2 separate regions of the Homo sapiens genome follow, and region 2 is linked to region 1. Evidence: promoter capture Hi-C in human tissues and cell types (Jung and others, 2019). All regions are on one chromosome and are shown on one strand. The core of a region is centred on a gene start or on the middle of the fragment in contact, and the rest is flanking DNA. Distances in the headings are between cores, read along the strand shown. Region 1 holds the start of HAP1 (huntingtin associated protein 1). Region 2 overlaps EIF1 (eukaryotic translation initiation factor 1).

What was found. The method cuts DNA at HindIII sites, captures the fragments that hold promoters and counts their contacts. A contact is called where the count stands out against the background at its distance.
Region 2: a contact is called between a fragment that was not itself captured here and the fragment with the promoter of HAP1 in region 1, in 2 of the 25 tissues and cell types used here (H1 embryonic stem cells and IMR-90 fibroblasts).

Annotation. Positions count from the first base shown.
Region 1 is chr17:41,732,801-41,737,121 of GRCh38, forward strand. HAP1 (huntingtin associated protein 1) reads right to left here and starts at 1,843. Exons shown (of 11, transcript NM_177977.3): 1 at 1,366-1,843. The coding sequence starts at 1,834. RefSeq lists an enhancer at 732-1,274. The HindIII fragment of the contact is 15,187 bases long and covers 1-4,321 here.
Region 2 is chr17:41,690,871-41,695,105 of GRCh38, forward strand. It overlaps EIF1 (eukaryotic translation initiation factor 1), which reads left to right. Exons shown (of 4, transcript NM_005801.4): 4 at 1-1,798. Among named protein-coding and RNA genes, the nearest start is that of EIF1, 4.1 kb to the left of the region's middle. The HindIII fragment of the contact is 3,325 bases long and covers 858-4,182 here.

The sequences.
Region 1 (4,321 bases), core at 593-3,092:
GCAGGAGGCGGCAGGTGGGGAGAAAAGGCCCAGCCAGGTCAGGAAAAAGGAGCAGATGCTACCAGCAAACAGCTGTTTCCCGTCCTATCGTCAGTTCTCCAACAAGGGTCATCGGGAGAGAAGACTGGGCTCCCCTCCTGCCCCCCACATCCTCCCCTTACCCCTCGGCACTCAACACTCCCTTCCCTGCTCCCAGGGCCAAGTGGACAGGGTTTTTAGGTTTTTGGGTTTTTTTTGGTTTTTTTTTTTTTTGGTTTTTTTTTTTTTTTAGACAAAGCCTTGCTCTTGTCCTCCAGGCTGGAGTGCGATGGCGAGATCTCAGCTCACTGCAACGTCTGCCTCCCAGATTCAAGCAATTCTCCTGCCTCAACCTCCCGAGTAGCTGGGGTTATACACGCCCGCCACCACGCCCAGCTTATTTTTGTATTTTTAGTAGAGACGGGGTTTCACCATGTTGGCCAGGCTGGTCTCGAACTCCTGACCTAGTGATCCGCCCGCCTCGGCCTGCCAAAGTGCTGGCTGGGATTACAGGCGTCAGCCACCGCGCCCGGCTTTTTTTTTTTTTTTTTTTTTTTTACCCCTGGAGGAGCCTGAGGTAAGGGGGTCACAGTCCTCCAGGCTCAGAAACTGGGCTCTCCGGACACCTGGGTCCCTGGCGCCTAGAATGGAGACAGCCAGGGGAAGTACAGCCTCAGACTGGCTCATCACCCCCTACCCAGGAGGCAGTGCAATGGAGTCTCCTGGGTCATACAAACAGACGCAGCCACTCACCCTGCACCTGTTGCGTGTGCAGAGGACAGGAGGAAGACTTCACCAGATTAGGAGACACTCGAGCCTCTAGGCCCAATCCAGAGATCTCCCCCGACCCGCAGGAGGATAGGAGAGACAAGGGGCAGGAAAAGAGCGCGACTTTGCCCCCATACCCGCAACCAAAAAGTGGGCAAAACTTCCCCCTCCGCCCGCCCACCCACCCCTCCATCGCACGCAAGCCCGGTCGGCCAGCGCAGACTCAGAGCGCGCGGGACAGCGCCCTCCCGCAGCCCCCCGCCCCTCTCCTGGCACTGCGGTAGACCCAGGAGAGGGGCGCTGAAGGGGTGCAGATCTGCCGCAGCAAGAGGCGCGTGGAGGTGGGTGGGCGAGCGTGCAGGCCCCAGAACCTGACTCACGGGCACAAACCAGGGGACAAGAGCAGAGGAGGAGATGGAGAAGGGGCGACCAGACAGACACCGCAGTGACATCGCGGGGGTGGTGGACGGGTGACACTGAGTGCTAGAGGGGGCGGGGTGCCTGGACCCGATGGGGCCACTTCCTCCCTGGAGTTGCCCCAGTCCCCACCCGGTCCAGGACCCCGGGGGCCCGATTTACCTTCCTCCAGCTCCCGAATAAAGGCGGCGCGCTCAGGGCCGGACACCCCGGGTCGCCGGCCAACGTAGGCGGCTGGCGTCTTCCAGATGCCCGCTGCCTTTCCAGTCCCCCGGCCAGTGGCCCGGGAACCAAACGGCCCTTGGAATACGAAGCGGGTCCACGGCGCGTCCGAATTGTCGGGCATAGACCGGACATCCCCTTGGATGGCCGAGAATGCGGACGGGCGCCGGGCTCCTGCCTTGGCTCCAGCCTCCGAGGCCGGGCGAGCTCCGGTGCGGGCTTCCGAGAGGAACTGGGATCCAGAGGTGGCTCGGGATCCTACTCTCTGTCCAGTGCCCCGTGCCTGCGGCTGCGCAGAGGGCTCCGGAGCGGGACTGGCTGAGGGCGAAGGTGCACAGGTGAGTGCTGCTGGGTCCCCGGGTCCGAGCCGGCTCCCCGCGCAGCACCGGCCCAACCTCTTCGGGCGCATCTCGAGTCTGCCGTCCGCTGCTGCGGCGGGACCTTTATAACCTGCGCCAGCCGCCGGGCCGGACCACGCGTAGGGGTGGGGGCTGCCGAGAAGCAACTAGTGGCAAGCGGGACTCAGAGCCGCGCGGGAGGGGAGCTAGTGGTGACGGAACAGAGCACAGTAAGAAAAGCAGGGCAAGAAGGGCGAGTGCAAGTTCCGGATGGCTCCGAGTTGGGATGGGAGCGAAAGATTTTTTCTGCCCTCTCCATCTCCGGAGAATGGTTCTGCCCAAAGCCGCGGCTGCCCCAGCACTCGCGGGTCCCTGGCTGGGGGCAGCCCCTCCCCAGCTGCCGCGCCGGGGTTTCGGGTGCCTTCCCTGGTGTAGAAGCTGCCAACCCAACGTTGTGCATACGGTCTGGGGTGGCCAGTGCATTAGGGCAGCGCTGCGTCTTTCCCGGTTGACTGGGAGAGACATTCCAAACTCCAGTGCGCTTCCAACGTGCTGCAACCCTGCCTGGCGCTGCAACCCTGCCTGGCGCTGCAACCCTGCCTGGCGCTGCAACCCTGCCTGGCGCTGCAACCCTGACCCTCGCGCTCACACCCCAGTGCTCGCGCCACTCGACGTCTTCCATTTGATTGGATTAACTGTTCTTCACCTCCAACCCTAGTTCGCTTTGCCCTCCTCTTGCCATGCTGGCGAACCCCTGTTCTCCTTGGGAGACGCCTCTTAAAAGTCTCCCTGTAGCCGGGCGCAGTGGCTCACGCCTGTAATCCCAGCACTTTGGGAGGCCGGGGCAGGCGAATCACCTGAGGTCAGGAGTTCCAGACAAGCCTGGCCACCTGGTGAAACCCTGTCTCTACTAAAAATACAAAAATTAGCCAAGCATGGTGGCGTGTGCCTGTAGTCCCAGCTACTCAAGAGGCTGAGGCAGGAGAATTGCTTGAACCTGGAAGGTAGAGGTTGCAGTGAACCGAAATTGTGCCAATGCACTCCAGCTGGGGCTACAGAGCGAGCCTACCCCTCAAAATAAATAAATAAATAGAATACTTTTTTTTTAAGTATCCTACTGGAAATGTTGGGTAGACAATTAGATGTATAAATCTGAATGTAGGGGAGAGACCGGGCTGGAGATTTAAATGTAGGAGTCATTGTTCTTTGATGACCATTTAAAGCTATGAGACTGGTGAGATCCCCAAGAGACTGAGAGAAGACAGGTAAGAGCGCCCAGGACTAACCCCCTAGGATTCAGAGGGCAGAAAGAAGAAGAGGAGGCATCAAAGGAAGACTGGGATGAGTGGGGCAGTGAAGTAGAGGAAAACCAGGAAAGTTGGGTCCTAGAAAGTAAAGAAAATGTTTCATGTAGAGAGTGGCCACCTGTGTTGGGTGGTGCTGTTGGGCCAGGCAAAGACTGAGGACAGAGACTCAGCTTGGCAAACTGGGGTCATGGGCAACCTTGGTGAGCTGGGGTCATGGCCTCGGCAAGAGCGGTCTTGCGGGGCCAGGCACAGTGGCTCACACCTGTAATCCTAGCACTCTGGGAAGCCAAGGCAGGTGGATCACCTGAGGTCAGGAGTTTGAGACCAACCCAGCCAACATAGTGAAACCCCATCTCTACTAAAATACAAAAATTAGCTCGGTGTGGTGGAACAAGCCTGTAAGCCCAGCTACTTGGAAGGCTGAGGCAGGGGAATTGCTTGAACCCAGGAGGCAGAAGTTTCAGTGAGCCGAGATTGCACCACTGCACTCCAGCCTGGGCAACAGAGCAAGACTTGTCTCAAAAAAAAAAAAAAAAAAAAAAAGAGCGGTCTTGGTAGAGGGGGTGAGAGAGACCAAAGAGGAGTGAGGAAATAACGAGAGGTAACAAAATGAAAACAGAAAGAAGGCTAGGCGCTGTGGCTCACACCTATAATCCCAGCACTTTGGGAGGCTTAGGAGGGTGAATTGCTTGAGCCCAGGAATTTGAGGCCAACCTGGGCAACATGGCAAAACCCTTTCGCTACAAAAAAATACAAGAATTGGCCGGGCGCAGTGACTCACACCTGTAATCCCAGCACTTTGGGAAGCCTAGGCGGGTGGATCGCCTGAGGTCAGGATTTTGATACCAGCCTGGCCAACATAGTGAAACCCCGTCTCTACTAAAAATACAAAAAATTAGTTGAGCATGGTGACGGGTGCCTGTAATCCCAGGTACTCAGGAGAATCGCTTGAACCCGGGAGGCGGAGGTTGCAGTGAGCCGAGATTGCGCCATTGCACTCCAACCTGGGCAACAAGAGCGAAACTCCGTCTCAAAAAAAAAAACATAGCTGGGCATGGTGGTGCATACCTGTACTACTTCAGGGGCTGAGGTGGGAGGATCACCTGAGCACAGGTCGAGGCTGCACTCCAGCCTGGGTGACAGAGCAAGACCCTGTCGGAAGGAAGGAAGGAAGGCGGGAGGGAGGGAGGGAGGGAGGAAGGAAGGAAGGAAGGAAGGAAGGAAGGAAGGAAGGAAGGAAGGGAGACAGTA
Region 2 (4,235 bases), core at 1,270-3,769, 41 kb before region 1:
GAGTAGAATTTCCCTTCTCTCCCTTGTCACAGGTTTAAAAACCTCACAGCTTGTATAATGTAACCATTTGGGGTCCGCTTTTAACTTGGACTAGTGTAACTCCTTCATGCAATAAACTGAAAAGAGCCATGCTGTCTAGTCTTGAAGTCCCTCATTTAAACAGAGGTCAAGCAATAGGCGCCTGGCAGTGTCAAGCCTGAAACCAAGCAATACCGTCATGTTTCAGCCAAGCCCAGAGCCCTAAGATTACAAACAACTATGGCCGGAACCTCCTCAGCTCTCCCTCTGCAGAGTTCCCTACCCTAAGAGAATGTTACCACCTGAACAGTCCTCGGTGAATCTGAGAGGAGAGGATGGGGTAAGGCAGAAGCACCAGCTGTACTACTAGAAGGGAGCTTTTGGTGGTAGATCCCCTGGTGTCTCCAACCTGACTAGGTGGACAGAGCTCAAAGAGGCCCTCTTACCGCTAGCGAGGTGATAGGACATCTGGCTTGCCACAAAGGTCTGTTCGACCAGACATATCCTAGCTAAGGGATGTCCAAACATCAGAATGTGAGGCCAACCTTCTATCAGAGTTAAACTTTTGACAAGGGAACAAATCTCAAACTGATCCATCAGTCATGTAGCTAGCTGTAGAGCTTGCAACTTAATAGCAGCAGCTGCCCAATGCCATGTGAAGTAACAAACTGGTTTTTGGTTTTTTTTTCCCCTTCAGTTTTAATGTTATGTGTAATGTATTTAAACCCTTATTTAAATAAAACTTGTTTTCAGAAATACCTGACTTGCAGATTATTTATATATAGTCGATCTTGTGCATATAAAGGAACCATAGAAATGGGCAGTGGAGGATTCGTCCACACCCACAGCTTCTCAACGGGCCTGAATTTGGCCAAGAAAAACCTTTATGAGCTTGTCCCTCTCTGGTCAACTGGTTTTTTGTTCGTTTGTTTTTTGAGACAGGTTTGCCCTTGTTGCCCAGGCTGGAGTGCAGTGGCACAATCTCGGCTCACTGCAACCTCCACCTCAGGTTCAAGCAATTGTCGTGCCTCAGCCTCCCTAGTAGCTGGGATTACAGGCACCATGCCCAGCTAACTTTTGTATTTTTAGTAGAGACAGGGTTTCTCCATGTTGGCCAGGCTGGTCTTGAACACCTGGCCTCAAGTGATCTGCCTGTCTTGGCCTCCCAAAGTGCTGGGATTACAGGCATGAGCCACCATGCCCAGCAGGTCAACTGTTTTTGCAAGCATTTAGCCAGAGTCATGCTGTGCTGTTAATCAGTGTCCTGGAGAATGGGTTGCTTGGAAATCTTGGCGCCCCCTCAGTAGTAACAGCCTTGGTTTAAGGGCGCAGAGTGGAGAGTAAATGCAAGGGCTATAACAAGGGCATTCATGCTGTGGGTTAAGATCCACAAATCGCTAGGAATGTGTATACTCTGGGTAGTAAGTTTGTAGTATTAGAAGGTTTAATGACAAGTATTTGAAGAGCTGAAGTTAAGTGTTGGGAGGCCATCCCTTATGAAGGACAATGAATGGCAAGTAAAAGACCAAGTTCTGTTCCTGGGTCCATTAATTTAGTTAAAAAGGCAAAGTTCTTTCAGCACACATATCTGCATGCAGTCACGTGCTGCCTAAGGATGCTTCATTCAACAATGAGCCTCACAGCCGTGCTACACAATAAGATTATAATACTGTATTTTTACTGTACCTTTTAACATTGTGTTACAATGGCCTACAAGAAGCTTGTGTGGATGGCTTTGAATGTGGCCCAACACGAACTAATAAATTTTGCTAAAACATGAGTTTTGTTTGGTGACTTTTTTTTTTTTCTTTTTAGTTCATCAGCTATTGTTGGTGTATTTTATGTGTGGCCCAAGACAATTCTTCCAGTGTGGCCCAGGGAAGTGAAAAGATACGACACCCCTGGCCTACAATTTCAGCACAGTAACGTGCTGTACAGGTTTGTAGCCTAGGAGCAACAGGCTGTGTCATATAACCTAGGCATGTAGTAGGCTGTGCCATCCAGGTGTGCGTAAGTACACGATGATGTTCGTAGAAAACACAAAATCGCCTAACGATGCGTTTCTCAAAACATGTCCCTGTCATTGAGTAATGCAAGACTACTAAGTTTACTACCAGCCCATTTTGTAGATAAAGGTACAAGCGGTGAGTTAGGTTAGAGCCCAGGTTGGGAAAGAGCATAGAACCAGGTGAGTTGTGGAGGAGGGCTGGTGAGGTTGAGCCAATGGCAACTGCCCTAAAACTAGGAGGTGATTGTGTTAGAATACAGCAGACTGAATAATTGATAGAGATTTATTTGGCTCACAGAAGTCGAAAGGCATGGCATTGGCATCTGGTGAGGGCCTTCTTACTGCATCATAACATGGTGGAAGGGCTGGACAGCAAATGGGGGCCAAACCTATACTGTTGTGAGCCCACTTCATTCATGAGGGCAGAGGCTCAGGACCTAATACCTTTAAAAACCCCACCTTGGCCAGCCACAGTTGCTCACACCTGTAATCCCAGCACTTGCCAAGGGGGGTGAATCCTTGAGACCAACCTGGGCAACGTGGCACAACCCTATCTCTACAAACAATACAAAAATTAGCCAGGCATGATGGCACACACCTGTAGTCCCAGCTACTTAGGAGGCTGAGGCAGGAGGAAGGACGATCACTGGTGCCCAGGAAGCCAAGGCTATAGTTAGCTGTGATCATGTCACTGCCACTGTACTCCAGCCTGGGTGACAGAGTCTCCAAAAAAAAAAAAAAAAAAGCGCCCCACCTCCCAATAACTGTTCAATTGGCAATTAAATTTCAACATGGGTTTTGGTTTGGGTGGAGCATTCAAACTATAGCAATGATTCTAACCCCAGCATCAGGAGCTTGTCGTGTTAAAGGTCCTACAAAACCAGTCTGTTTCATGAACACAAAATAATTTAGCCTTGGAGCCAACCAAGGCTCCAAATACAGTGGCATTGTTCAAAATATTTGAGTGAATTTTTTTTTTTTTTGAGATGGAGTCTTGCTCTGTTGCCCAGACTGGAGTGCAATGGCACGGTCTCGCCTCACTACAGTTTCTGCCTCCCAGGTTCGAGCGATTCTCCTGCCTCAGCCTCCCGAGTAGCTGGGACTACAGGCACGTGCCACCACGACTGGCTAATTTTTGTATTTTTAGTAGAGACAGGGTTTCACCATGTTGGCCAGGATGGTCCCGATCTCCTTGACCTTGTGATCCGCCTGCCTCAGCCTCCCAAAGTGCTGGGATTACAGGCATGAGCACCGTGCCTGGCTGGGTGAGACTTTTAAATCAGTAAGATTTGACTGTAATGTAGGAGGTTTTTTCTTGGAGGAACTTCTAGAGCAAGGCGGGAGGCCAAACACACAAAATACTACAATCAGGATGAAACAGCAAGAGAAGAGAATTCCTTCTATGCTGTAGGTTGTGAACACGGCCAGGTTCTGTGCTAGGCTGTTCCATCTCATGCTTTTTAAGGACCTCCAATTCTCTAGGATGGGATTATTCCAAGTTAAACCATCAACATCTATTAAATCAGCTCTGTGAAGCCAAGCGAAACAAGTATCTGTGAACACAGAACTGAGGAAGTTGGTGAACACCCTTATCCACCTGATGTAACCTATCTCAGGCTGAATGAAGAAAAGTATAATTAAAAAGTCATGATGGGCCGGGCGCGGTGGCTCACATCTGTAATCCTAGCACTTTGGGAGGCCAAGACAGGCGGATTGCCTGAGCTCAGGAGTTCGAGACCAGCCTGGGCAACAACGGTGAAACCCTGTCTCTACTAAAATACAAAAAATTAGCCGGGCATGGCGGCGTGCGCCTGTAGTCCCAGGTGGGAGGCTGAGGCAGGACAATCGCTTGAACCCAGGAGGCAGAGGTTGCAGTGAGCCAAGATTGCGCCACTGCACTCCAGCCTGGGCAACAGAGCGAGACTCCGTCTCCAAAAAAAAAAAAGAAGGCATGATGGCTGGTTATGGTGGCTCATGCCTGTAATCCCAGCACTTTGAGAGACCAAGGCAGGCAGATTGCTTGAGTCCAGGACTTCGAGACCAGCCTGGGCAACATGACTAAACCCTGTCTCTACAAAAAATACAAAAATTAGCCAGGCGTGGTGTTGCATGCCTATGCTCCCAGCTACTGGGGAGGCCAAGGTGGGAAAATGGCTTGAGCCCAGGAGGCAGAGGTCGCAGTGCGCCAAGATGGCACCACTGCACTCCA